Linked DNA regions of Homo sapiens: region 1 is linked to region 2. Evidence: promoter capture Hi-C in 16 types of primary human blood cells and fetal thymus (Javierre and others, 2016). All regions are on one chromosome and are shown on one strand. The core of a region is centred on a gene start or on the middle of the fragment in contact, and the rest is flanking DNA. Distances in the headings are between cores, read along the strand shown.

Evidence for each region. The method cuts DNA at HindIII sites, captures the fragments that hold promoters and counts their contacts. A CHiCAGO score of 5 or more calls a contact.
Region 1: a contact is called between a fragment that was not itself captured here and the fragment with the promoter of CPD in region 2, in 1 of 17 cell types (total CD4 T cells). The highest score is 5.6, in total CD4 T cells.

The regions. Positions count from the first base shown.
Region 1 is chr17:30,128,784-30,132,274 of GRCh38, forward strand. The region is part of intron 2 of NSRP1 (nuclear speckle splicing regulatory protein 1); the gene reads left to right. Among named protein-coding and RNA genes, the nearest start is that of MIR3184, 13 kb to the left of the region's middle. The HindIII fragment of the contact is 7,104 bases long and covers 1-3,491 here.
Region 2 is chr17:30,377,112-30,381,036 of GRCh38, forward strand. It overlaps CPD (carboxypeptidase D), which reads left to right and starts at 1,816. Exons shown (of 21, transcript NM_001304.5): 1 at 1,816-2,615. The coding sequence starts at 1,870. RefSeq lists enhancers at 82-131, 1,402-1,571, 1,717-2,644 and silencers at 1,622-1,861, 2,162-2,291. The HindIII fragment of the contact is 3,432 bases long and covers 1-2,523 here.

The sequences.
Region 1 (3,491 bases), core at 17-2,516, 250 kb before region 2:
TATCACATTCATCATGAAATAACATTTAGTGAAAAAATATATACAAATTTGTTATAGATAAAAGGAAAAAAGACAATAAAGCATTTCATATTAATGGTAGTTATCTTTGTATGGCAGACAATGAGTGGTTTTTTTGTTTTTTTTTTTTTAATTTGTAGAGATGGGGGTCTCGCTATATTGCCCAGGCTCATTTTGAACTCCAGGCCTCAAGTGATCCTCCTGCTTTGGTGTCCCCAAGTGCTGGGATTACAGGTGTGAGCCACCACGCCTGGCATGATTTTTTTTTTTATACTTTTCTGTATTTTCAACTATTTTTTAAGAAAAATTATGGTGAATTTTAAGGATTTCCCATAGTGTATTTAGTTTCCAAATCATATTAAAATGTAAAAAGATATAACACATTTTATCTGATAGAAGACTAGGAGAGAAAATATTGGGACATTTTAAAAGCATGAGGTAGATGAAATAAGGATACAAAATTGAATACTTAGGGTTGTACAATGCTATAGGTGCACAGATAAGTAAAAAATAATAAATGAAAATGATTACTTTTTAGCATGGTAGTGTGAGTTTTTTTTCAAAATCATATTATTATTTTGTTATAATTTTGACGAATACAAGGAAGTGAGTGCTTAAAAAAAAAAAGATAACCATAATTGTGTATTCCCAAAGTAAGAAGCATTAGCAAGTTACAGGATTACATAAGTGTATACACTTCCATTCCTTTCACTATTTCTTGATATTTCTCCTCTTTAATCTTTTTAAAAATTTTCTTGAAAAAGTAAGTTGAAGGTTTGGTTTTCCTAATGAAAAATTAATCTTATTTTAGCTGGAAGCCTGTTTGGCTTACTATTGGTAAGAAAAAGTTAAAATTTTAATCTGTCTGAACATTATAGTACATCCAAATCAATAAAATGTTTTAGTTGTGGTTTTTCATCAGTTTTAATCAGATAATGCCTTACTTCTGTAGATATAGTCTAGTATAGTTCAAATAAAAAGACAGTTGTACATAGATAAGACAAAGCATATTGTGAAAATGTTGGGAAATTTAGGTTATTTTAATGATGGCTGAGAATTTGTGAACTTTTCTCATATGCTATTAAACTGAATTACTAGTAAATTTATGGTACCGAGTATATCAAACAGTGAGGGATTTAAAGTAATTTTGCAATTTGCTAAAATTTCATCCTTAACATACTGGCTAAGAGTGAAAAAGCAAGAAGAGAGAAAAGGAAAAGGATGGAACTAAGACAATTCTATTAGAAGTGGGGAGATGGCAAGAAAATTCTGTCCTCCTTATTTTTCTTTTTCTTTTTTAAAATATTTCATTTTGAGACAGGGACTCACTGTTGTCCAGGCTAGAGTGCAGTGGCTCTGTCACAGCTCACTGTAGCCTCAACCTCCTGGGCTCAAGCAATTCTCCCACCTCAGCCTCCCAAGTAGCTGAGACTACAGTCATGCACTACCATGCCTGCCTAATTTTTTTTTATTTTTTTGTTGAGACAGAGTCTCACTATGTTGCCCAGGCTGTTCTGGAGCCCCTGGCTTCAAATGATCCTCCTGCCTCAGCCTCTCAAAGTACTGGGATTAGAAGTGTGAGCCACTATGCCCAGCGTCCACTAGTCTTTTTAACCATTGTTTTCCATTTCTGAGGTCTTTGACTTAATTTCATAGTTTTTCAACATGTGCTCATTGGGGCATTATTTCTTAAGTTTTTGATTGTTAAATAATGCTTGCCCATTGCTTTTGTCACTTAAATATCTACTTGATTGGGTGTAATATTTCTACAATAACAATTTATTTCAAAATCTTACAGACATTAGTGATTTTTTCTGGTACTTAATGTTCTTATGAGGAAGTACAACACTATAGTTTCTTTTATCCCTACTTCTAGACTTTTTTTAATTGGCTTGGACTACTGGAGAGTATATAGCCTTTTTAACTCAATGTGTCTTGCTGCAAATAATGTTGAATTGTTTTTTCCAGGAATACACTGTTTCTTTTTCTCTAAATATTTAGCTTTTTCTTCATTTCATTGAAATTTACTGTCATCCATGTGCTGGGTTATCATTTTGGAGGATCATCTTTGTCTTTCATATCATCGTCATGCATTTATTAATGCATTCAACAGATATTTATTGATCACTTGCCCTGTGCCAGTGAAACATAACAAAAGCCACTGCCTTTATGGCACTTATATTCTCAAGGTGGTGGTGGTGGGGGGTGATAAGTAATTAACATAACAGATAAGTAAGTTACATGTGAATTTAGAAGATTACAGAGCTGTGAAAAAGTAGAGCAGGATAAGGAAAATTAAACAGGTATTTAGGGAAATTACTCAGTCTATGTCTTTTTCTCTCTACTAAGATTAAACTTTTGTCAGTGTTTCAGTTATAGCTTTTCTGTTTCTTACTGTTTCTAATTTATTAGCTCTATTGGTGTTATTTTAGTCTTCAATATATTTTCTTTAGCTCTACAGTTTCTCTGTCTTTTATTGTCCTCTCATCTGAATAGTAACTTTTAAAATTTAATTAGTAATCTTATTTTGAAGAGTTTGACAGGGAAGAGAGAGAGGAAGAGATGGAAATGATAGTTCAAAGATACACAGGTATACCTCACTGATATTGTGGGTATGGTTCCAGACCACTGCAATAAAGTAAATATCTCAGTAAAGCAAGTCATGTAAGTTTTTTGTTTCCTAGTGTATATAAAAGTTATGTTTATGCTATGCTGTAGTTTTTAAAGTGTGTAATAGCATTATAGCTAAAAAAATGCCTATACCATAATTTTAAAATACTTTATGCTAAAAAATGCTAATGATCATGTGAGCCTTTAGCCAGCAATAATCTTTTTGCTGGTGGAGGGTTTTGTCTCAATGTTAATGGCTGCTGACTGATCAGGTGATGTTTGCTGAAGGCTGGGTGGCCGTAGCAATTTCTTAAGACAAAAATGAAGTTTGCTGCATTGATCGACTCTTCCTTTAATGAATTATTTCTCGGTAACATGTGATGCTGTTTGATAGCATTTACCCACAGTAGAACTTTAAAAATTGGAGTCAGTCCTCTCAAATCCTGCTGCTGTTTTATCAACTAAGTTTATGTAATAATCTAAATTCTTTGTTGTCATTTCAACAATGCTCACGTCGTCACCATGAGTAGATTCTATATAAAGAAACCAGTGCAAGGCCAGGCGCGGTGGCTCACGCTTGTAATCCCAGCACTTTGGGAGGCCGAGGCGGGCGGATCACAAGGTCAGGAGATCAAGACCATCCTGGCTAACATGGTGAAACCCCGTCTCTACTAAAAATACAAAAAATTAGCCGGGCATGGTGGCGGGCGCCTGTAGTCCCAGCTACTCCGGAGGCTGAGGCAGGAGAATGGCATGAACCAGGGAGGCAGAGCTTGCAGTGAGCTGAGATCATACCACTGCACTCCAGCCTGGGCGACAGAGCGAGACTGTCTCAAAAAAAAAAAAAAGAAAAGAAAAGAAAC
Region 2 (3,925 bases), core at 566-3,065:
AATACTAAATTAATCATCTTCACCTAAACCTGTGCTTTCTCCTGGCCTGTACCTCAGTGAATACCTGCAAGTTGCTTAGGCTGTAACTTGAAGTCAGCCTACAATCCTCTTTGTCTCCAGATCCTGTCCACTTTCCTTTCCGAAGGTCTTTCAGATCCATTTCCTTCTTTCCACCTCCACTGGCACTGCCCTCATTCAGAGTCTCATCATGTCTTCCTGGATTGCAGCTTCCTTCCAGGTCTCTCAGCCTCAAGTCTTAGGCCTCCCATTCAATTTTCCGTGTTACTGTCAGAGGAATTTTTCTAAACTAGCTTAAAACCCGTCTGTGGTTCTCCATGGCCTTCCAGATCAAATGTGCTCCCTGAAGACTGGCCTGTGAGCCCCTTCACACCAGTAATCCTGACCCTGCATGCAATTCCCAGAACACAAGGCATTTGTTCTCAAATCCTGCGGCTTTCTTTGCTTGCTTCTCCTCCTGCCTGGGATCCTTCCCATCCTCCATGGTTTCTCTCCTCCTTTCCTCCTCCTCAAGTTCAGATATTTCCCTCACCTGTACCCCCTCTGTTGTAGCATTTATCACAAACTACACTGAATCTCTTGACTGGGCAGAAGAATGAATTGTTTCCCAGCATCTAGCTTTGACATAAAAGTTGCTCAATAAATACTTGACGAATGAATGAACTCTATTAAAGTAGGGTTCAGTCATAGTTCAGGGAAGGGGCCCTGAAATAGCTGGCTCTGAAAGAAGGTAATGCCGGTTATTGCGATTATGTTGTTAGATGGGTAGAATTTCGCATTCGATTAAGGGATAGTTTTGGGTTTCTTCAAGCTAAAGAAACTAAAGCCTATAAAAGGTGATTTAAAAGACCTCTTCTCTAGACTTGATGAAACGCTGTAATTGCCATCTTTGGCTGACACTGAGGAGTTCAGGAATGCCAAGCAAGTGTTTCCAGAAATGTCAAACCTGCTGTTTTAAAATATGTCATTCCAGGGCACAGTTAAATATACAACTTGCTCCGATGAGGTGGGAGAAGTGGGCCGGTGAGCTGTGAAATGAAATCTGCCTAATGAGGGTCGAGGCCAGCACACACAGGGACCTATTTGCAGTAAAACAACGTGGGGTGACGCCTAAGAAATAGACAACATTAACACAAAGGGAGCCTACTACGTAGCACATTTCCGCTAGGCATAAAAGAGACACCTTTCCAGAAAGCAACTCTAAAAATGAATGCACCGCCTAGTGAGGTGCGAGCCTTCCTCCCCACGAGGCGTCCCGTGCAACCGCACGCGGACAGCGGGGCTCCAGCGGAGGCGGGGTGGATGCGGAGACAAGGCGCCTAGGAGACTGGGCTAAGGCTTTGAGTGTCCGAACGAAGATTCTTTCGAACCTATTGATTTTTTCTAGTCTTATGATTCTTTCGAACCTTTTGATTCTTTCCATTCTCGGTTCTAAGCATTAAAGCGCAGCTGAGAAAGGCAGCAACAAAGATGGGAAGAGAACTAGCAGGAGTTCTCAGAGAAAAATGGGTGATAATTTAGGGGAGAAGCCATAAAGAAGAGACTAAGCGAGAAGCGGAGCACACGCAGAAGACGAAACAAGGAGGAGGAGAAGAGAAGAAGAACCTTGGCGAAGGAAGAGAGTGACCAAACTCGTCCCGGACGGGAGGAGGGCAGGCCCGCCCAGAGGGAATCGGCTGCTTTAAGGGAAGCCCCGCCCCCTGGTGGTGACGCTCCACCAGGCCCGTCCGCGATTGGCTGCGGCCAGAGGGCGGGATGGGGTTGCTAGGCGAGGAGGGGATCCGGCGGGCCCCCGCCGCCCGGAGCGCTGAGCCGCGGGAGCGGAGCCGGGGTTAGCGGCGCTGCTGGAAGATGGCGAGCGGCCGGGACGAGCGGCCGCCTTGGCGGCTAGGGCGGCTCCTGTTGCTCATGTGCCTGCTGCTGCTGGGGAGCTCGGCCCGGGCGGCTCACATCAAGAAGGCGGAGGCGACTACCACAACTACGAGCGCGGGCGCCGAGGCGGCCGAGGGCCAGTTCGACCGCTACTACCACGAAGAGGAGTTGGAGTCGGCGCTGAGGGAGGCGGCGGCCGCGGGCCTCCCCGGCCTGGCCCGCCTCTTTAGCATCGGCCGCTCGGTGGAAGGCCGGCCGCTGTGGGTGCTTCGCCTCACCGCCGGCCTGGGGTCGCTAATCCCTGAGGGCGACGCGGGGCCTGACGCTGCCGGGCCCGACGCTGCGGGGCCGCTGCTGCCCGGCCGGCCCCAGGTGAAGCTGGTGGGCAACATGCATGGCGACGAGACCGTGTCGCGCCAGGTGTTGATCTACTTGGCCCGCGAGCTGGCGGCCGGCTACCGCCGCGGGGACCCGCGCCTGGTCCGCCTGCTCAACACCACCGACGTGTACCTGCTGCCCAGCCTCAACCCCGATGGCTTCGAGCGTGCCCGCGAGGGCGACTGTGGCTTCGGCGACGGCGGCCCGTCCGGGGCCAGCGGCCGCGACAATAGTCGCGGCCGCGACCTCAACCGAAGCTTTCCCGACCAGTTTAGCACCGGCGAACCCCCCGCCCTGGACGAGGTGCCCGAGGTGCGCGCCCTCATCGAGTGGATCCGCAGGAACAAGTGAGTGTTGCCTGCCCCCTCCCCGTCCGTGTGAGCCTCCAAGGGCCGAGGCTGGTTCCGGCACCCAGTAGGCGCTCAGACAATGCTGGCATAAGGGGTGGCGGTGGTGAAGGTGAAGGGAGACACCCTGTAACGGGGACAGGGCCCAGGCCGCGTAGCCTCCCGTCCTGCTAATCATCAAAGAATTGCCTCCTAGAGGCTGTCATTTGTTCAAGGGATGGCTGGAGGGGACACTCCTTTCTGACATTTCTGGTCCCTATTCTTACAGGGGCATAGAATATGAGCGAGAAGAGATCTTAAGGATAACCTAGGTCAGCTCACACATTTTATAGATAAGCTGTCAATGTTGTTATCTTATATCAAAAGTGCCTAATGTTATAGGCGCTGTGCTAATTTTTTCTGTGACTGCAGTATCTCACTTTATTTTGGCCACAACCTGATGTCATAGACACCATCAGTTTTGCATACGGGGAAATTGAGGGTCAGATTGGTTAACTGATTTACATAGGAGTGTGGCTGGGACTTAGAATTAGGCAATCTGATTCCCGATAGTCCTCTTAGCCACGGAGGGACACTGGAGCCCAAAAATGGCAGATGATATTCCCAGGATCTTCCCCTTGCCTATTTGACAGAAGCTGATTTTTCTCCAATTTTTACCTCTGACTCAGCTTAAGAAGATATGGACTTAGCTGGAGAACTTGCACAGATCTGTGAGCCGCTTCATTTTAGACTCTGAAGGGTTTGTGATGTCATTTGTGCACCTTATTAGCCTGGGCAGAATGGCTAATGGTCACACTTCTAATACACACTTTAAGTGTTATTAAGCATTGCATGAGGTTTAAAAAATTACAAAGTAGAAGAAGGAGGACCTCAAGAAATTAGTATAAAACAAGAGAATGTTATAAATATTTATGAGGTATGTTGGTGTACCCAGTTAAACTTTACAGGAATTGTTCCCACTGGCAAGATGTGTGTGGGCTGCAATAACACGGACCATCTCTGTGGAAGAGGTAGAGCTTGAGCTATCTCCAGAGATGGGCAGGATTTTCAGCAAAAAGGAGAGGAATAAAATAAGAGGGAACTCACTCCAGATGGCATAGTGTCTGAAGTGAGCAGGCATCTCTTCCCCTTTTCTAGCATCAGCTTTTCCCCATTTTTGTATCTTCATAAGGCTTTTGAAGCAATAACTGATCATTCCATCTGGATTAAAAGAAGATTTCTGAGGGACTGCTAAGATAAAGAAGTTTCCCTGCGGGACTTGGAATCATTTCTTCTACAAGATTTCAGTCATATATAGAAGATCTAGAAAA